7 separate regions of the Homo sapiens genome follow, and all the other regions are linked to region 2. The links are contacts of gene promoters, found by promoter capture Hi-C in blood cells and fetal thymus (Javierre and others, 2016). All regions are on one chromosome and are shown on one strand. The core of a region is centred on a gene start or on the middle of the fragment in contact, and the rest is flanking DNA. Distances in the headings are between cores, read along the strand shown.

Evidence for each region. The method cuts DNA at HindIII sites, captures the fragments that hold promoters and counts their contacts. A CHiCAGO score of 5 or more calls a contact.
Region 1: a contact is called between a fragment that was not itself captured here and the fragment with the promoter of CREG1 in region 2, in 1 of 17 cell types (neutrophils). The highest score is 5.7, in neutrophils.
Region 3: a fragment that was not itself captured here is called in contact with the fragment with the promoter of CREG1 in region 2 in 1 of 17 cell types (non-activated CD4 T cells); the score reaches 5.6 in non-activated CD4 T cells.
Region 4: a contact is called between a fragment that was not itself captured here and the fragment with the promoter of CREG1 in region 2, in 1 of 17 cell types (total CD4 T cells). The highest score is 5.8, in total CD4 T cells.
Region 5: a fragment that was not itself captured here is called in contact with the fragment with the promoter of CREG1 in region 2 in 8 of 17 cell types (naive CD4 T cells, fetal thymus, total CD4 T cells and 5 more); the score reaches 12.1 in naive CD4 T cells.
Region 6: a fragment that was not itself captured here is called in contact with the fragment with the promoter of CREG1 in region 2 in 11 of 17 cell types (fetal thymus, total CD4 T cells, total B cells and 8 more); the score reaches 14.5 in fetal thymus.
Region 7: a fragment that was not itself captured here is called in contact with the fragment with the promoter of CREG1 in region 2 in 8 of 17 cell types (fetal thymus, total CD4 T cells, total B cells and 5 more); the score reaches 7.9 in fetal thymus.

The regions. Positions count from the first base shown.
Region 1 is chr1:167,941,718-167,944,488 of GRCh38, forward strand. The region is part of intron 1 of DCAF6 (DDB1 and CUL4 associated factor 6); the gene reads left to right. Among named protein-coding and RNA genes, the nearest start is that of MPC2, 6.0 kb to the left of the region's middle. The HindIII fragment of the contact is 3,401 bases long and covers 1-2,771 here.
Region 2 is chr1:167,552,308-167,555,038 of GRCh38, forward strand. CREG1 (cellular repressor of E1A stimulated genes 1) reads right to left here and starts at 1,455. Exons shown (of 4, transcript NM_003851.3): 1 at 1,081-1,455. The coding sequence starts at 1,434. RefSeq lists a silencer at 1,144-1,593. The HindIII fragment of the contact is 3,087 bases long and covers 348-2,731 here.
Region 3 is chr1:167,142,541-167,145,355 of GRCh38, forward strand. No RefSeq gene overlaps it. Among named protein-coding and RNA genes, the nearest start is that of STYXL2, 50 kb to the left of the region's middle. The HindIII fragment of the contact is 6,442 bases long and covers 1-2,815 here.
Region 4 is chr1:167,164,095-167,166,808 of GRCh38, forward strand. It overlaps LOC105371601 (a long non-coding RNA gene), which reads left to right and starts at 2,506. Exons shown (of 3, transcript XR_922250.3): 1 at 2,506-2,714. The HindIII fragment of the contact is 1,140 bases long and covers 797-1,936 here.
Region 5 is chr1:167,117,567-167,120,554 of GRCh38, forward strand. STYXL2 (serine/threonine/tyrosine interacting like 2) reads left to right here. Exons shown (of 6, transcript NM_001080426.3): 5 at 1,683-1,900. Among named protein-coding and RNA genes, the nearest start is that of STYXL2, 25 kb to the left of the region's middle. The HindIII fragment of the contact is 1,371 bases long and covers 1,027-2,397 here.
Region 6 is chr1:167,074,783-167,077,523 of GRCh38, forward strand. The region is part of intron 1 of GPA33 (glycoprotein A33); the gene reads right to left. Among named protein-coding and RNA genes, the nearest start is that of GPA33, 14 kb to the right of the region's middle. The HindIII fragment of the contact is 9,307 bases long and covers 1-2,741 here.
Region 7 is chr1:167,101,416-167,104,367 of GRCh38, forward strand. All of the region lies in intron 2 of STYXL2 (serine/threonine/tyrosine interacting like 2), which reads left to right. Among named protein-coding and RNA genes, the nearest start is that of STYXL2, 8.8 kb to the left of the region's middle. RefSeq lists a silencer at 2,197-2,491. The HindIII fragment of the contact is 791 bases long and covers 1,021-1,811 here.

The DNA.
Region 1 (2,771 bases), core at 127-2,626, 390 kb after region 2:
AGTACTTGAAGGAGATTAAAAAAATTTTTTTTTAAACACTGCTGATGGCTCCACAGGGAAAATGTAAATAGTGAAACTTCATGTACATCTTGGACAAAATAACTAGGGTCGAACACTTTTAAATAGATATCTATTGTGGGATTGCTGACTTGTATGGTAAGTATGTTTAACTTTATAAAAAACTTCCAGACTGTCTTCCAAAGTAATTCTACCATACTGCATTCCCACCAGCAGTATATGAGAGTTCCAATTGCTCCACATTCTCATCAGCATTTGGTGTAGTGAGTCTTCCTAATTGTAGCCTTCATGGTAGGCGTGTAGAAATATATCATTGTTTTAATTTGCATTTCTCTTTTTTTGTTTTTGAGACGGAGTTTCGCTCTTGTCGCCCAGGCTGGAGTGCAATGGCATGATCTTGGCTTACCGCAACCTCTGCCTGCTGGGTTCAAGAGATTCTCCTGCCTCAGCCTGCCAAGTAGCTGGGATATGGGCATGCGCCACCATGCCCAGCTAATGTTGTATTTTTAGTAGACATGGGGTTTTGCCATGTTGGTCAGGCTGGTCTCGAACTCCTGACCTCAGGTGATTGACCTGCTTCGGCCTCCCAAAGTGCTGGGATTACAAGCATGAGCCGCTGCGCCTGGCCTTTAATTTGCATTTCTCTAGTGGTTAATGATGTTGAGTATCTTTTGTGGCTTTTGTTTTTGTCATCCATATAGTCTGGTTAAATGTTCAGGTTTACCTTTTTAATATTGTAAGAATTCTATAATTCTTTATATAACAGTCCTTAATCAGATATGTACTTTACAAATATTTTCTGTCAGTTTATGTCTTTTTCTTAACAGGTTCTTTTATAGTTCATACTTTTTATGTCCTATCTAAGAATCTTTACCTAATCCAAGGTAACAAAGATTTTTACTTTTTTTTTCCTGGAGATTTTATCTTTTTACCTCTTACATTTAGGTCTGTGAACAATTTCGAGTTAAGTTTTACATATGTTGTAAGAGTCAAGTTTCATTTCTTTGCATATTAATGTGCAATTGATCTAACAGTGTGTGGAAAGACTACTTTTTTCCCTTTGTTGAAAATCAATTGACCATAAATGTTTAAGTCAATTTCCTAGCCACATTCCATTGATCTAGCTTCATGTCTTTATACCGAGGATTGAAATCAGCTAGTGTGATACTTTAAACTTGGTCTTTTTTTTGAGACAGAGTCTTGCTCTGTCACCCAGGCTGGAGTGCAGTGGCTCGATCTTGGCTCACTACAAGCTCCGCCTCCTGGGTTCACACCATTCTCCTGCCTCAGCCTCCCGAGTAGCTGGGACTACAGGCACCCGCCACCACGCCCGGCTAATTTTTTTGTATTTTTTTAGTAGAGATGGGGTTTCACCGCGTTAGCCAGGATGGTCTCGATCTCCTGACCTTGTGATCTGCCCGCCTTGGCCTACCAAAGTGCTGGGATTACAGGCGTGAGCCACCGCGCCTGGCCGAAATTTGGTCTTTTTTAAAAAAATTTATAGTTATCCTGGCTATTCTGAACCCTTTCTATTTCCATAAAAATTTTAGAACTAGCTTGTCAATTTCTACAAAAAGACTTGGGATTTTGTGTTGAATCTATATATTATTTCAGGGAGAACTGACATGTTTACAATATGAATCTTCTCATCTGTGGTTCTGGTTTGTCTCCGTGTATTAAGCATTCTTTGATTCTCTCAGCAGTGATTTGTATTTTTTGGTGTTAGGTTTATCCTTAAATATTTCATATTTGTAATGCTATTTTAGATGATATTTTTATTTATTTTTACTTTTTATTTGTACAAATTTATGGGTACATATGCAGTTTTGTTACATGCATAGATTATGCTGCAGTCAAGTGAGGGCTTTTAAGGTATCCATCACCTGAATAACGTTCTTTGTCCTCATTAACGAATTTCTCATCATCCTCCCACCTCCTCATTCTTCCACTCCATTATGTATCATTCCACTCTGCATCTGTGTGAACACGTTTGTTTAGAACACACTTATGAGTCAGAACATCATACTTGTCTTTGTGTGCCTGGTTTGTTTAACCTAAGATAATGACCTCTAGTTCCATCCACGTTGCTGTATATGTCATGATTTCATTCATTTTTTTTTTGAGATGGAGTCTCACTCTGTCGCCCAGGCTGTAGTGCAGTGGTGAGATCTCGGCTTACTGCAAGTTCCGCCTCCGAGGTTCACGCCATTCTCCTGCCTCAGCCTCCCAAGTAGTTGGGACTACAGGTGCCCGCCACCACACCTGACTAACTTTTTTTTTGTATTTTCAGTAGAGACAGGGTTTCACAGTGTTAGCCAGGATGGCCTCGATCCCCCGACCTTGTGATCTGCCCGCCTCGGCCTCCCAAAGTGCTGGGATCACAGGGGTGAGCCACCACGCCCAGCCTGATTTCATTCTTTGTTATGGCTGAATAGTATTCCATTGTGTATATATACCACATTTTCTTTACCTGTTCATCCATTGATGGACACTTAGGTTGATTCCATATCTTTGCTGTTGTGAATAGTGCTGCAGTAAACATACTGGTGCACATATCTTTTAGATATATTAATTTCTTTTCTTTTTGTAAAAATCTAGTAGTGGGATTGCTAGATGGAAAGATAGTTCTATTTTTAATTCTTGGAGAAATCTCCATACTGTTTTCCATAGAGGCTGTACTAATTTACATTCCCACCAATGGTATATAAGAGTTCCCTTTTTTTCACATGATAACCAACATTGTCTGTCTTTTT
Region 2 (2,731 bases), core at 205-2,704:
CTTGCATCCTGTCTTTATCAACAATGTTGTACTTTCAGAGTTGAACTCAAATGTGAGAGCTTTGTCAAAAAGACCCTCCATCAAATCAGGCTCCATTCCTGGACTCTGTGTGTCTCCGGCCTCCCAAGCTGGGTGTCTGTGACCCCATCCCTGAGACAGCAGAGATCCATCAGAGTTGTAAGTGTGGCCCTGCACCAGAAGGTGGGCAAAGGGCGAGGAAGAGATACACCTTCAATCAGCTCTGCATCTTACTGAGGAGCCACTATGCCTGTGGAGGCCTAAAGACTGCAGTAATCATTGTAATCGTCCATGATATTGTACGTTAGCGTCTTGCTGCAGGAGGGAAAAGCTTAATTCAGGAAGGGTAAGAGAGTGAGAAACCCTGAAGTCACATATTAAAGTGCTTAAGTACCTAACAATCTCTATGCCCTGTAAAACCTTTAAGAATAGGAGCCCAGGCAGGGCGCGGTGGTTCACGCCTGTAATCCCAGCACTTTGGGAGGCTGAGATGGGTGGATCACGTGAGGTCAGGAGTTTGAGACCAGCCTGGCCAACATGGTGAAACCCCGCCTCTACTAAAAATACAAAAATTAGCCGGGTGTGGTGGCACGCACCTGTAATCCCAGCTACTCGGTAGGCTGAGGCACGAGAATCGCTTGAACCTGGGAGGCAGAGGTTGCAGTAAGCTGAGATAGCGCCACTGCACTCCAGCCTGGGCCACAAAGTGAGATTCTGTCTCAAAGGGAAAAAAAAAAAAAAAGAGAATAGGAGCACAGTTAATAGAGACACTGGGCCCCAAGACGACTGAGAACCACTCACGGATGAGAAGTCCTCGGGCTGCTGGCAGAGAATTTACCCCAGGTGCGTGGCCCAGTGGCGGAGGCTTGTGGGAAATTCCTGGTACCCAGCTGCCCAACATCTGGGACGCTGCAACGCCCACCTACCTGCCTGCGCGGCAGAGAAGCAACAGCCGTTCGAGCCACGCTCCACTTCCCGGGAAGAATTCTGGGGAGAGTGAAGGCTCGCTCTGTGGCCGCCCCGCCCACAGCCCGCCTGGGGAAGCCGCGGGCCCCAGCTCACCTGCAGGTTGCTCACGGAGAGCTGCAGCGGGCTCAGGTAGAAATAGGGCACGCCGCTGCCCGCGCCCGGGGGCCCGTCGCTGAGCGAGAGGACGTCGGCGAAGGGCCGGCCGCGCACCGCCTCCAGCGTGGAGATGGTGGCCAGAGCGCCCCAGTCGGAGACGTGCGTCACGAAGCGGGCCACGCGCGCCGCGTCCTCGCGGGGTGGTAGCGGCGGCAGCCGGGAGGCCTCGTCCCAGTCCCCGTGGTCCCGGCCGCCGCGACCCCGCGCGGGCGACACGAGCAGCGCCAACAGCGTCGACGCCAGCAGGGCGGCGAGCAGTGCGCGCGCGGACCCGCGGGATAGCCCGGCCATGGCGGTGTCTCCAGGAAGAGTCCCGGGCCCCAAGACCTGCAGGGACCCAGCCGGAGCTCGGCGCGCCCAGGCCCCGCCCCCTCCGCGAGGCGCCAATCAGAGCTAAGCACAATGCAGGGGGCGGGGTCCCTCTGCAGCTCCGCAACCTGCAGGAGAAGGGATTGGTTCATCTGCATTCCAATCGCTCTGCCTGCCCTCTTTAAGGATTGTGAATTTGTCCTAAACGGGATATTTGTTTTGTTTTGTTTGACAGGCGGAAAAAGAAAGGCTTGAAGAAATCAAGCAACTTGCCCAAATCGTACTGCTAGGAAAAGACCAGCCTCTTTACACAGGCACACACCCCCTCCTTTTAATACCTTTGGAGATGAATATCTGGCATCTGAGAGGAAATGCTGCATTTTCTACCCATGCGCCTCTTTTCTGTTGAATTTACCATCAGCTCCAAAGAACAGCGAGGGTCCCAGCGTTGTAGAAGCCCAGACTCAGGCTCGTGTACCCCATGTGTAGCTGATGCCAAACACTGACATATAGGTGCTTGGAGATAAAAGTTTATTCGATTTGGCCAAAGCGAGAAGGCGGGAGGGCAAGATCTCTCAAATCCGCCCTAACAAAAAGAAGAAGCAGAGAGTGTTTATGCGGCCAGCGAGTCAGGGAGGGGGAGTTTCAGGGAATCGAGGGAAAAAGTCTGTGTTTCTTCAGTCTCAGATAATTCCTTGAACAATCAGACTTCTGGGCGACAGAAGCTGGCCTCAAAGTACTTCAAAGGACTTATTCCTCCTGCAAACTTTTTCGTAACCCTGAAGTTATTATCTCCTCCTGCTTGATAAAGAAACAGTACATCAGCAGTTTATGATTATGTTGTAGGAACAAGGGATATTGGGCAAAAAGAGAGTTGTCAACATGTGCAAGCAAGGGCCTGATCAGAATTTTCATTATTTCAGTCACTAACAAATGCTGGGGTGCTGAAATCTCAAGGGGCCCACTTACACTAGTAGTAAAGTTAGGCAGAAGCCCGAAAGTTCAAGACCTTTAAAAAACTTTTTATTTACTTATTTTAAAATTTTTAATTTTTGTGGGTACATAGTAGGTGTATACATTTATGGGGTACATGAGATATTTTGCTACAGGCATACAATGCATAATAGTCATATCAGGGTAAATGGGGTATCCATTGCCTCAAGCATTTATCCTTTGTGTTACAAACAATCCAATTATACTTTTAGTTATTTTAAATGTACACTTAAATTATTATTGGCTATAGTCACCCTGTTGTGCTATGAAATACTAGGTCTTATTC
Region 3 (2,815 bases), core at 183-2,682, 410 kb before region 2:
ATTAATTCTTCTCTAAACTTTGGTTCAACAGTGAAACCATGTGGCCTGGGATTTTTGTGTGGGGGGGAGTTTTTAAATTACTACTTCCATCTTTAGTTTTTATAGATTTATTCAGGATTTCTATTTCTTCTTGAGTCAGTAGTTTGTGTCTTTCTAGGAATTTGTCCGTTTCATATATGATATCAATTTTTTTTTTTTGAGATGGAGTCTTGCTCTGTCACCCAGGCTGGAGTGCAGTGGCGCCATCTTGGCTCACTGCAACCTCTGCCTCCCGGGTTCTAACGATTCTCCTGCCTCAGGCTCCTGAGTAGCTGGGATTACAGGCGCATGCCACCATACCCGGCTAATTTTTGTAGTTTTAGTAGAGACGGGGTTTCACCATCGAACTCCTTTTTTTTTGGAGACGGAGTCTCTCTCTGTTGACCAGGCTGGAGTGCAGTGGTGCAATCTTGGCTCACTGCAAGCTCCGCCTCCTGGCTTCACGCCATTCCCCTGCCTCAGCCTCCCGAGTAGCTGGGACTACAGGTGCCCGCCACCACGCCCGGCTAATTTTTGTATTTTTAGTAGAGACGGGTTTCACCTTGTTAGTCAGGATTCTCTCAATCTCCTGACCTTGTGATCCGCCCGCCTCAGCCTCCCAAAGTGCTGGGATTACAGCCCTGAGCCACCGCACCCGGCCATGATATCAAATTTGTTGGCATGCAGTTATTTGTAATATACTTTTATGATCCTTTTAATTTTTGCAAGGTTGGTAATGATGTTTTTGTTTTCTTTCTTTTTTTTTTTTTTTTTTTTTTTTTTGAGACAGAGTCTCACTCTTTCACCTAGACTAGAGTGCAATGGCACAATCTCAGCTCACTGCAACTTCTGTCTCCCGGGTTCAAGAGATTCTCCTGCCTCAGCCTCCCGAGTAGCTGGGATTACAGGTGTACGCCACCATGCCCAGCTAATTTTTTGTATTTTTAGTAGAGACGGGCTTCACCGTATTGGCCAGGCCAGTCTCTAACTCCTGACCTCAAGTGATCCGCCCGCCTAGGCCTCCCAAAGTGCTGGGATTACAGCTACCACGCCCGGCCTCTTTTTTTTTTCATTCCTGATTTTAGTAATTTCTGTCTTCTCTCTTTTTTTTTCTTGGTAAGTTCAATTAAAGATTTGTCACCTTTGTTGAACATTTCCAAGAACCAACTTTTTACTGATATTCTCGATTGCTTTTCCATTCCATTTCATTTATATCTACTCTAATCTTTATTTCTTCCCTTCTTGCTTTGTATTTATTTCGTACTTTTTTTCCGTTTCTTTTACTTTTATGTGGTTGTTTTTTTTAGAGAGAAGGTCTGTCTCTGTCACTCAGGCTGGACTGCATTGGCACGATCATGGCTCACTGCAGCCTCAAACTCTTAGGCTTAAGTGATCCTCCCACCTCAGCCTCCCAAGTAGCTAAAGCTACAGGCACACACCACCACACCTGGCTAATTTTTTAATTTTTTATAGAGATGAGGTCTCACTACATTGCCCATCTAGGAGATGTCCGATGTGCCCTTGAGAAGAATGTGCATTGTGCTTTTGTAGGGTGTAGTGTCCATTAGGTCTAATGGGTTTATAATGTTGTTCATTTCTTTTTTTGTTTTGTTCTTGTTTTTGAGAAAGGGTCTCACTCTGTCATCTGGGCTGAAGTGCAGTGGCACAGTCGCGGCTTACTGCAGCTTCAACCTTCCAGGCTCAAGCGATTCTCCTGCCTCAGCCCCCTCTTCCCCTCACCTGGTAGCTGGGTCTATAGGCACACGCCACCATGCCTAGCTGATTTTTGTATTTTTTGTAGAGACAGGTTTTCACCATGTTGCCATATTTCATTATATATAAATAATATTTTTATTATCAGCAGCACTTTCAAATGGCCATTTTTTATTTTGGTCTACTTTTAGACCTACAGAAAAGTTGCAAAAAAAGTAATAAAGACTTCCTTTATGTCCCCCACTCTTATTCTAACATGTTTTATGGCCATAGTGCAATTATCAAAATAGTCAAATAGCCTTTTTTCCTCCTTCAATTTTTTTGTTGTGGTAAAATATACATGACATAGTCTGGGAGCATTGTCTAATGTCTATAATCCCAGCACTTTGGGAGGCTTAGGTGAGAGGATCACTTGAGCCGAGGAGTTCAAGACCAGCCTGGGAGATATAGTGAGACCTCATCTCTACAAAAAAGTAAACAAATTTAGCCAGGTGTGGTGGCACGCTCCTGAACTCCCAGCTATTTGGGAGACTGAGGTGGAAGAATCGCTTGAGCCCAGGAGGTGGAGGCTGGAGTAATGAGCCAAGATCACGCAACTGCACTCCAGCCTAGGCAATAGAATGAAACTCTGTCTCAAAAAAAAAAAAAAAAAAAAAAGAAAAAGAAAAAGAAAGAAAGAAAGAAAGAGAAAACACAGCATAGAATCTATAATCGTGACCATTTTAAGTGTACAGTTAAGTGATGTTAAATATATTCATAAAGTTGTACAATCATCACCACTACCCATCCCTGGAACTTTTTCATCTTGTAAAAGTCAAGCTCTATACCCCTTAAACAGTGACTCTTTCTTATCCCTTCTTTCCTGCCCCTGGAAACCACCATTCTGCTTTCTGTCTCTTTGATTTTTACTACTCTATGTGCCTCATATAAGTGGAATTATATAATATTTGTTTTCTTGTGACTGGCTTATTTCACTGAGCAAAACGTCCTCAAAGTTCATCCATGTGTTGTAGCATATGTCAGAATTCCCTTCCTTTTTAAGGCTAAATAATACTCTGCTTCATGTATATACCACATTTTGACC
Region 4 (2,714 bases), core at 117-2,616, 390 kb before region 2:
GCCTTACATTATTCTTTTGTTGGTTTATCTCCCCAGCCTCTGCTTTAAGAATCTTCTCTGCAGTATTTTAACCTTCAAAAGCAATTGAACTCCTCAGTTGTGGTGCTTTTTTTTTTCAGACGGAGTCTGTCTGTGTTCCCCAGGCTGGAGTGCAGTGGCACGATCTTGGCTCACTAAAACCTCCGCCTCCTGAGTTCAAGTGATTCTCCTGCCTCAGCCTCCTGAGTAGCTGGGATTACAGGCGCCCACCACCACACCTGGCTGATTTTTGTATTTTTAGCAGAGATAAGGTTTCACCATGTTGGCCAAGGCTGGTCTCAAACTCCTGACCTCAGGTGATCCACCTGCCTCTGTCTCCCAAAGTGCTGGGATTACAGGTGTGAGCCACCGTGCCCAGCCATGGTGCATTATTATTTTATCAACCCAGTGAAGAGCCCCTCTCTACATTCCTGATCCTCATTTCTACCCAACCTCCAGGTCCCCATATGCATTACTTGTCTGGCAATACATGTGCACCCTCCCTCACTGCATATGTATTGCTGATCCATGTGCAAACATGCTTCCAGTGTGCATGAAGGCTCAGTGCCATCCTATGCCAACCATCTCCTACTTTGCTCATCCAATGCCTTATTTTCAGGATTTTTCCCATCACCAAACCCTTGTTGTTTCCTATCTCAAAGAATAGTGAGGCATCTCAAACCCCTTACACAGACTGTGAAGTATTTGGAATGAAATTTATGAGTGACCTCCACCCTGAGATTACACACTGCTACCAGGCCTGTAGAATGTTTTCTAAAGCTTTATTGCAATATATTTTACATAGTACAAAATTCACCTATTTAAATGGTGCAATTCAGTGGTTATGTGCACACTGCAACCCCACATTATAACCCACTTTTTAAAGTTCATGTTATAAGAAGCATTTATTCATGTTATTACACATTCTTAATAAACATCACATTAATCTGATGACTTTTTGATTATATGTGTTGTTAGAGGGGAACAGATTCAAAATGGTAATAAAGAGTCATCTTCACAAAGAGCTGGGCACACTTTGATTAATATACTCCAAGGTTGTACAACTATCACCATTAGGTAATTCCAGAATATTTTCATCACCCCCAAAAGGAACTCTAAACCCATCAGCTGTTATTCCCCATTTATCTCTCCTCCCAAACCTTGGCAACCACTTTTACTCCCTGTCTCACTGAATTTGCATACTTTGGACATTTCACATACGTGGAATCATACAATATGTTGTCATTTATAACTAGCTTCTTTCACTTAGCATAAGGTTTTCAAATTTCACCCACAATGTAGTATTTCATTTAGTATTTTATTCCTCTTCCTGTCAGAATAATCTTCCATTACATGAATATACCATATTTTGTTTATCCACTGGGCTTGTAGAATTTAAAACAGCATCACTTTTAGTACCTAAAGCATAGTCAATTTCTGTCACGTAATTAAGATAATTATGTCTTTTTAAAAATAATAATAATTTAGGTATCTTAGCAAATGAAGAGAAAAAGGAAGAGAAGATATTTAGGAAAAACATAGGAAATTTCTATATTTTTCTATTCTTTCAGAAAAACAGAATTCTATGCAAGCTAGAAATGTTTTCTCACTTTTTCCCTGTGCCTACACATCTCTATACACCTTCCTAATCCTGAAAACCCAGAACACAGCTTTATGCTGGCTTGGTACTGAATACCCAGTAAGTGTTGAATAGGAAGGAAGAAAAGAAGGAAGGAAGGAGATTTTAAAAAGAATGGATATTATTTAAAAAAGGAAACACTTGGAAAAAATTATTTCCACCTTGCTCTTTCTTCTCCCCGAAGCCTCCCCCAATCTCCACCTTGCTAGTCTTCCTTTTTGCGATGCAAATGGTTGAGCAGACAGTAGTGGGGAGAGCTGCAGGAGAGGTCAGCGGTTAAGCTTAATTACAAGTAAATACAATTTCTCTGGGGTTGCTGTGGAAAGGAGAGCAGATAAGATCAGCGAAAAGTACTTGGAGGGCCTTGGAAGACAGCCCCTCTGCAAATATAGGATTGGCTTTTATTGTTGTTGCTGCTAATAAAACAGATGTTCTCAAAGCATTCCTCCAACCAGTGAGAGGGCTGGGGAAATCGCTATGTCTTTACTGGTTGCTGAAACCAAATAAAAATCAAATTAAAGTTTAATTCACCTCATAATTTTCTTCATGGCAGGTCTGCTCAGCAGCCTTGAGGCAGCGCCAATGTCCTCCTCCACTGTGGCGTACATCACCCTCAGCCCGGGGACCCCAGAGGTCAGCTGCACATTTCCCTCGTGGGTGTTTGCAGCTGAAGAAAAGGCCCAGGCTAAGACGAAAGGGTGTTGGGAGCTGCTGGAAGATACCAGAAAGGCCTTCCCTCCTCTTCCCGTCTCCAGGGTCTCCATGGCAACGGGGGGAAAGCTGCTAGGTATTCCAGCTATGTGACCCGGGCCATGTATATTACCCAGCCTCCTGAGGGGTGCCAGACCATAAACACTGAGCCGCCTGCAACCACAGATGTCATGCTCCCTCCTATGCTCCTCATACCCAGGACAGTGTCTGTGATAAGGAGGGCTCGAGTAACATTTCATGCACCCATGCAATAAAGTTTCCTATTCAGTTAATATGAGTGAGGGAATGAACAAATGAAATAATTTTTTCCAAGTGTTTCCTTTTTAAATAATATCCATTCTTTTTA
Region 5 (2,988 bases), core at 462-2,961, 430 kb before region 2:
TGACTGCTCTTCATGACCCTTTGTCCTAACCCTCTGGTTAGTGCCTGAGACAGACGAAACTCCCCCAACTTTCACCAAAGGCGCCCATAGGTCCATCCAGCACAATGAGGCTGCCTAGCCACTTACCCTGCCCCAGCCCAGAGAAAGGCCCCTCCATCCACCTGCATTCGGAGGTCTCCAGGCAAGATGCCGCCATGACTGCTTATCCTTTGCCCTCTTGCCAGGACTCTCTTGTCCCTCAAGAAGGCCTCTGGGCCTCCTTTCCTGCCACAGAGTCTTGCCGACTTCACCATCTCATGACATCTGTAGCTACCACAGAACCGGACACTAGGAGCCATTGACAATAATACTGACATGCATATGTAATTACCAACATTGGAAAATGTTCACAATACAGTAAGAAAGAATTAGATTACAAGAGAAGACATGTACAGTGTGCTGCTAATTGAGCAACAGATGTATGTGTATGTGTGTGCATGTTTTTGCATAGACAACAGTTAGGAAATGTGAGAAAATGTGAACAATGTTTCTCTCTGGGAGGTGTTTTTACAAGCAGTTTTTATTTTCTTCTTTAGATTTCCTTTAACTTGTACAGGTTTCCTAAGGTAGACATTGTTTTTATAATCCAAAAACTATTATTTTCTAAAAGTTTATCAGCGGTTTCCAGAACAAAAACAACTCACTCACATCCTATTTCTTTAGGATGCCAGTGCATAATTGCGACCACTTGGTTAATTAGTGAAACAAATTTTTGCTGACTCATCGAATACTTAATGAGATGTTTTCCCAGTGTAATTATCCAGATATCCAGAAGCAAAGGAGGAAATTTGGCCTCAGGGGAGGGAATAGGGAAAACAGCTTTGAACAGTGGGTCTTATCTTCACCAAGGAGTAATCAGTTGCCTAGAACTTGATCCTCAGAGCTGGGCACCAAGTCTTAAGTGATCTTTAAATAGATCTTCAGATACAGAAGCATTCATCTTACGGTCACTAAGAACCCAGGCATCGCCAGGTATCCTCAGCTAAAAGCTTTTGTTCCTTCTCGGACAACCTGTCCTCAGGGCCTCTTCAAACTAAGCTGCACTTATTCAGCTACAGCAAAAAGAGCTCTGAACTAGAAATCTAAAACACTAGTTCTTGTTGTCTTTTTCTCCTTTCACAATCTTGGGAAGTTATAAGAGCTCTCAGATTGAGTTTTATAATCTTCAAATGGGAATAAAACTAGAGTTCCTGTCTACTTCTTAAGTTTATTGTTAGGATAACATAAAATAATGCATGTGAAAGGATTTTGACAATTATAGCATGCCATATTAATGTGGAATACACTTAATTTTATTATTTGTGCCTACCACTTTTGTGCCTTGATGAATGTCCATTCCCAAGGCATGGGGTTTTAAACTAGAAGTCTCTGGATCATTCAAATGTTTCCTTACACATCATTTTGTTGGCCTCTTCATCTCGCCCTTCCTTGCCTAACTGCATGTCTTTTCTCCCTTTTGCTGAGGCCAAGTCATCAACTCTTTCTATAATGGTATTTGCAGTGATCCCCAGACAACCAGGGGCAGAAAAGGAGGCACTTGCCCAGCTGTGGCCCTAGACTGGCTGAGGCAGGCTCACCGTCACAGTGGTGACACACCTTTCTAGTTCCGACTCTTGCAAACAGGTCCCTGCCTCTTCCCGCAGGAGTGTGGCTGTGAACAAGGGGAGGCTGAAGAGGCTGGGAATCACCCACATTCTGAATGCTGCGCATGGCACCGGCGTTTACACTGGCCCCGAATTCTACACTGGCCTGGAGATCCAGTACCTGGGTGTAGAGGTGGATGACTTTCCTGAGGTGGACATTTCCCAGCATTTCCGGAAGGCGTCTGAGTTCCTGGATGAGGCGCTGCTGACTTACAGAGGTGAGAGGGATCTGCCGCTCCAGGCTGCTGGAATTCCACGGGGGAAAAGTAATGTGGGGAATGTTATGAAAACCTGATTAGTTGGCGTGTGTGAGGGGTATCTGTCTTAAGAAGGCTGTTTTCTCTAAGAAAAGGAGAAAAGACAGGATAATCATTCATCCAGTAAGTAATTACTGAGTGCCTAGCAAGTGCCAACTACTATTCTAGGCACTGTGGTGAAAGACACAGGCAACGCTTCCAGCCTTTGACTGTTACACTGTAAGAGGGGACAGAAAATGAAAAAAAGAGAAAAAAATGTCAGATGGTGATAAGTGTGAGGCAGAGACTAACTAGAACAATGTGCTAGAGTGACTGACTAGCTCCTTGGAGAGCATGGGGGAGGAGGCCTTCTGACAATGGGACATTTAAGCCAAGTGACAAAGGGCTAGCCATGGGAGAACTGGAAGAAGAGCATTCCTGCAGAAGAGAACTAGTAGTGCAAAGATCCAAAGGTGGAAAGCTTGGTGTGTTCAGGAATCAAAGGCCAGTGTCGATGAGCATGGTGGATGAAGGTTGAAGTGGCAGAGGTTCCCCATCAAACAGGAAGCTAAAAGCCAGGGTAAGAAGTTGGAGCGGCACCTTGATCTGATTTATGTTTTGGAAAACTCCCTCCCTCCACCTTGGAGAACAGACCGAGTTGGGAAGGTAGAGAGTAGTGCTTTGGGGTTGCTATTGCTATATCCAAGTGAAAGGTGACATGAGACTAGTCTGCAGAGGTCACAGGCCTCAGGGAGGAGAGGTGGAGCCCAGGCAATGGGGCCGACAGCCTGGCTGGGAAGAGTTGAGGATATGGTGTCCAGAAACCTGGGTTTGAGTCCAGGATTTGCTACACTGTATATACAATGTGACCTTGGGCCATTTCCTTTAGCCCTAGGAACTGCAGAGAACAAAGACAAAAATATCAAATCCTAAAGTTGCTGTGAGGAATAACGTTTTAAAAATGCATATAAAATAACTCCCTTGGGACAACACCTGGCACAATAAATGCTTTAAAAATTATAGCCATTGCTATAATAATATTGTTAATGATTTCCTGGAAAGGGCATTGC
Region 6 (2,741 bases), core at 200-2,699, 480 kb before region 2:
GGGGGTGGGGGTGGTCTCAGATTGCATAGAGCAATGTAGCCCTTATTTAGGACTTTGTATTTTGCTCTGAATGAAGTGAAAATGCCCTGGAGAGATTTAAGCAGAGAAAATATATTTGACTTACTTTTTTTTTTTTTTTTTTTTGAGAGAGAGTCTCGCTCTGTTGCCAGGCTGGAGTGCAGTGGCTCGATCTTGAATTGCCTCCTCCCGCCAGGTTCAAGTGATTCTCCTGCCTCAGCCTCCCGAGTAGCTGGGATTACAGGCATGCACCACCACGCCCAGCTAATTTTGTATTTTTAGTAGAGATGGGGTTTCACCATGTTGGCCAGGCTGGTCTTGAACTCCTGACCTCAGGTGATCCACCCACCTCAGCCTCCCAAAGTGCTGGGATTACAGGCATGAGCCACCATGCCTGGCCTGACATACATTGTTAAAAGATCATTCTGGCAAATGTGGGGTGAACAGATAGAAGTGGGGTGGGGAACAAGAATGGAAGCAAGGAAATCAGGCAAGAGTTGGCTCAATAGTCCAGATGAGGGCTAATGTCTTAGACACAGGTGATTGTGGGGAGGTGGTGAGAAGTGATCCAAATTGGAATGTATTTAGAAGGTAGGGCCAATGGGATTTGACTGCAGGCTACATTTGGCGTGTTAGAGGAAAACAGGAGTCAGGAATAGACAGAAGGATTTGGCCTCAGCAACTGGAAGAATGGAGTTGTCGTTTACTGAAATGACAACAGTTAAGGAAGGAGGAAGTTTCAGGGGGCAGATCAGGAGTTTGTTTGAGGACTTGCAAAGTTTGAGATGCTCCTTAGACACCCTGGTGGAGGTGGCAATGAGGCAGTTATGTAAGTCTGGAGTGCCACAGAGGCACGGAATGGAGACACAACTTTGGGAGTCACCGGCTCTCCATCAGTTAAGGTCAGAGGATGTTGAGGATCACTAAGGAAGTGCATGAAGACAGGAAAGACATGTGGGACTGAACCCTGGGACACTCCAGTGCTTCATGATGGAGGAAATTAGGAGGAATCAGTAAGGGAGAAGTAGGAAAATCTGGCTAGGGAGACAGGAAGAGAACCAAGAGCAGGAAAAGTTTCTTGAAAGCAAAGGAGGTCAGCTACTCAAATGCTGCTGACATGTTCAACCAGGGACCTGAGGGCAGAGAGATGGTCATTGGATGTGGCCACATGGAGGTGGCCTTGGCATTAGTGGATGCAGTGGGGTGGTGGGGATGGAGCCTGAAAGGAGTGAGTTCAAGAGCTGATGGGACAAGAGGAAGCAGACAGTGTTTGCTGGAAAGGGAAGAGAGCAGGGAGACTGTAGCAGCTAAAGGAGGCTATAGGGTCAAGAGGAGTTTACGCCCTTTTTCCCAAAATATGTGTATGATGATTTAAAAAATAATACTTTTACACTGTTTGTTGATGATGAGAATGAGCCAAGAGAGAATGGGGACAGAAATGATGTCCTTGTAGGGCAAATGGGGCTGGGGGTACGGTGTTATGGGAGGACAGGCCTTAGAAGAGATGCCGGGCTGTCTACCCACTGTAACAGGATGTGGCTAAAGGTGCAAGTGGGCTGGTAGATTTGGTGGTAGAAGGGTGAGCAAGTTCTTACTGAATGTTCCCATGATGAGGCTGCAGCATAAAGAAGGAAAATGTCCTGCTGAAGACCGTCCCCCCGCCCAGCTGGGAAGACTCCACTATCCAGGCAAATTCCAGCTGGATTAACACACTTCTCTTTCAAAATGCAAATCGCTCCTGGGAAACAGGGAAGCATTCGGGTTGTTCATACTTCATTAAGCAGTATTTCATAAGGTGAAAGTCAGCCACCCTCCTGGAATGGGCACTGTACAGTGAGGGCCATGTGAGCTCCTGGGGTGAGTTTATAATATCCGGGAGTATTGGATATTGGGAATGAGAGACAGGAAGATGTCAAAAAAACAGGTTTCCCCTCTTTGGCATTTGCATATTTTCCTCATGGTGATGCCAGTGCCAGAAGCCCCTGAAAATTTGTTCAAATGTTGGCTTCCCAAGTCACTGATGCTGCTCCAGAAGGTGATTCCAAAGTGGCCAAGACTTATCAAATGACCCTCCATGTGACTGGTGTCTTTCCACCACCTTCGTCTATCAGAAAACATTTGCTGGCAGGGCGCAGTGGCTCGTGCCTGTAATCCCAGCACTTTGGGAGGCCGAGGTGGATGGATCACCTGAGGTCAGGAGTTCAAGACCAGCCTGGCCAACATGGTAAAACCCTGCCTCTACTAAAAATACAAAAAATTAGCGACTGTGGTGGTGCATGCCTGTAGTCCCAGCTACTCAGGAGGCTGAGGCAGGAGAATCACTTGAAGCTGGGAGGTAGAGGCTGCAGTGAGCTGAGATTGCACCACTGCACTCCAACCTGGGCAACAGAGCAAGACTCCATTTCCAAAAAAAAAAAAAGAGAAGAAAACACATTAGTCATCATTACTAACAAGTCACCCTTCATCAGAAGGTTACTTGCTTCAATGGAGCCCTCCAGTGCCGTCTGCCCAGCTCCCAGCTATAGCAGACAGCCCATCTAGATATCATTTCTCATATGCCTGGTGTAGTCATGGCAACTGCCACTGATCTTTACTTCACCTCTTCTGTCCTTGCCTGGACCAGGGCATTTTCCCTGGAGCGCTGTCCTCACGGTGACCACTCTTGGGCCTCTCCATGAACTTTACACTGATTCTGTTCTTGTCTATCACCCTGGCCACACACT
Region 7 (2,952 bases), core at 166-2,665, 450 kb before region 2:
TCTTACAAAATTAAACATACATCTACCTAAACATGCACACCTATATCTACATGATCCCATCATTCTACTCCTAGGTATATACTCAAGAGAAATGAAGGCCTATGTCTGCAGGGCACAGTGGCTCATGTCTATAATCCCAGCACTTTGGGAGGCTGAAGCAAGTGGATCACCTGAGGTCAGGAGTTTGAGACCAGCCTGTCCAACAGAGTGAAACCCCATCTTAACTAAAAATACAAAAATTAGCTGGGTGTGGTGGTGGGCACCTGTAAGCCCAGCTACTTAGGCTGAGGCAAAAGAATCACTTGAACCAGAGAGGTGGAGGTTGCAGTGAACCAAGATTGCACCACTGCACTTCAGCCTAGGCAACAGAGTGACAGTCCATCTCAAAAAAGAAAAAAAAAAGCCTATGTCTATGCAAAGACTGGGACATGAATGTTCATAGCAGGTTTATTTGTAATAGCCAAAAACCTAAAAACATCCTAGATGTCCAATGACGAGTGAATGGATAAACACATTGTGTCACATTTACACATAGGAATACTATACAGCAACGAAAAGAAATGAACTATTGATTCATACAACAACATGGATGAATCTCAAAATAATTACACTGCTTGAAAGTCAGACAAAAAAGGGTACATACTATATTATTCCATTTATATAAAATTCTAGAAAATGCAAACCCATCTCTACAGTGGCAGAAAGCAGTTTAATGGTTGCCTGGGGGGCATAGGGCAGGGAGGGGGTGAGAGGGAGGGCTTAAAAAGGGGCACACGGGATGATGTGACCTTGGTTGCAGTGATGGCTTCACGGATGTATACATATGTCAAATCTTGTATATTTTAAATTTGTGCAGTTTGTATATCAATAATAAAGCTGTTTTTTAAAAATATATATATATATAAAAGATAAATAAAACCCTCTTTTAGGAGGCAGTATGATACTGTGGAAAGAAATTAAGTGGTGCAGTGGAGACCAAAATTGAGGTCAGACCTGCCCTCCTACTTATAAACCCTTGAAAGCTTGCTTAAATTACTTAATCAAAAAAATCAGAATACCAGTTTTACCCAGGAGTAGAGAATAAATAATACAACATATATAAAGGTATACTAGGTATTTGATAAATGCTGGTTCTCATACCTTTTCCTTCCAGAAAAAGATATCTGACAACAAAATTTTTTCAGTAACTCATCATGTCAAGAAATTTTTATTTAGCCAGAGTCCCACACACACTGATTAAGACATCATGCTTCTCTAATTCTGCCATGAGCAAATCCTGTATTCTAAGAAGCAGAGTATCACTTACTGATATTTGTCCCCATCCTGAACAGTCCTCCTTGTACTTGATAAGTGCCTGAAATTCCATCCTTCTGGTTTTATGACTTCAGGTAAAGGTTTGAGTCTTTAAGTTAAATTTTAAGTCTTCTTTAAGTTAAATTACGCACCAAGTCAGCAAATACCTCACCACCGGACTCTTAGTCCTTGTACTAGTTTCCTAGGGCTGCCACAGCAAATTACTACAAACTAGGCAGCTTAAAAACAAGAGAAATTTATTTTCTCACATATTGGAAGCCAGAAGTCTGAAATCAAGCTGGTGACAGAGCCACACAGCCTCCAAAGACTCTAGGGAAGACTCCTTCCTTGTCTCTTGCTCGTTTCTGTTGGCTACGGGCGTTTCTTGCATTGTGGCAGCATAATTCCAATCTCTGCCACTCCTTCAAAAGGCCGTCTGCTCTGTCTTCTCTTCTCTTATAAGGACACTTGCCACTGGCTTTAGAGTCCATCCTAATTTAGGGTTATCTCATCTCAAAAGCTTTAACTTAATTACTCCTGCAATGATCCTTTTTCCAAAAAAGATTACATTCCCAGGTTTTGGAAGACATACCATTTTGGAGGGCACCGTTCAACTCACTACAGCCCTATATCCAGCCCCTAGGAAACAGAATTTTACTCTTTCCTGTGGAACTAGAACAGAGCCTTGCAAAACTTCACCCAGTGATCCAAACAGCCACTAGCAGCCAGCCAAAATTAGCAGGGATGTACCCTGCTTGCTGTCCTGGCAGGGAGTCTTAACATTTCAAGTCTCATCTGTAAATCTCATCCTAGGGTGAATTAAGAATCTGAGAAAGGGGTGTAGAAAATGGATGGGGTATCAAATCTTCATTTTTGCCTGAGTTAGGCACTAACTTCAAACACCTTAAATTCAAACCTAGCCACTATGAGTCACTCTCTGGAAGAAAATGGGCGGTTAGAGATTCATCCATCTCACAGCTAGGCAAATTTCCCTAAGTGATTCATGAGTTGACACTGAAATTTAAAACCCCCTGTCAGTGGGGGAGCTTGGTGGGGACTTCTCCCTTACCTATAGTCTCCGTCAGGCCTTCCCAGTCACCTAAACAAATACAGCCTAAGAAGTAAGTGCACAGCCGGGCGCGGTGGCTCACGCCTGTAACCCCAGCCCTTTGGGAGGCCGAGGTAGGCGGATCACAAGGTCAGGAGATCGAGACCATCCTGGCTAACACGGTGAAACCCCGTCTCTACTAAAAATAGAAAAATTAGCCTGGTGTGGTGGTGGGCGCCTGTAATCCCAGCTGCTCAGGAGGCTGAGACAGGTGAATGGCATGAATCGGGAGGCGGAGCTTGCAGTGAGCCGAGATTGGGCCACTGCACTCCAGCCTGGGGGACAGAGCCAGACTCTGTCTTGAAAAAAAAGAAGTAAGTGCGCTTGTAATGCAAACCAACCTCTGCCCGTCCCCCCACCCCCCGTCTCTTCCTTCTTAGCTATTATCATCAGTTTTCTCTTCTTTCCAACTAAAGGAGCAAAGGCATTTTTATCATTCTCTTGTTCCTGATTTGAAGAATGGTTTCTACTTGACTTTATATCTTTCCAAGTCAAAATCCGTTCCTTGCTTTGGCTTTTAGATCTGAACTTTTCAAGACTTCGCAGTTTTG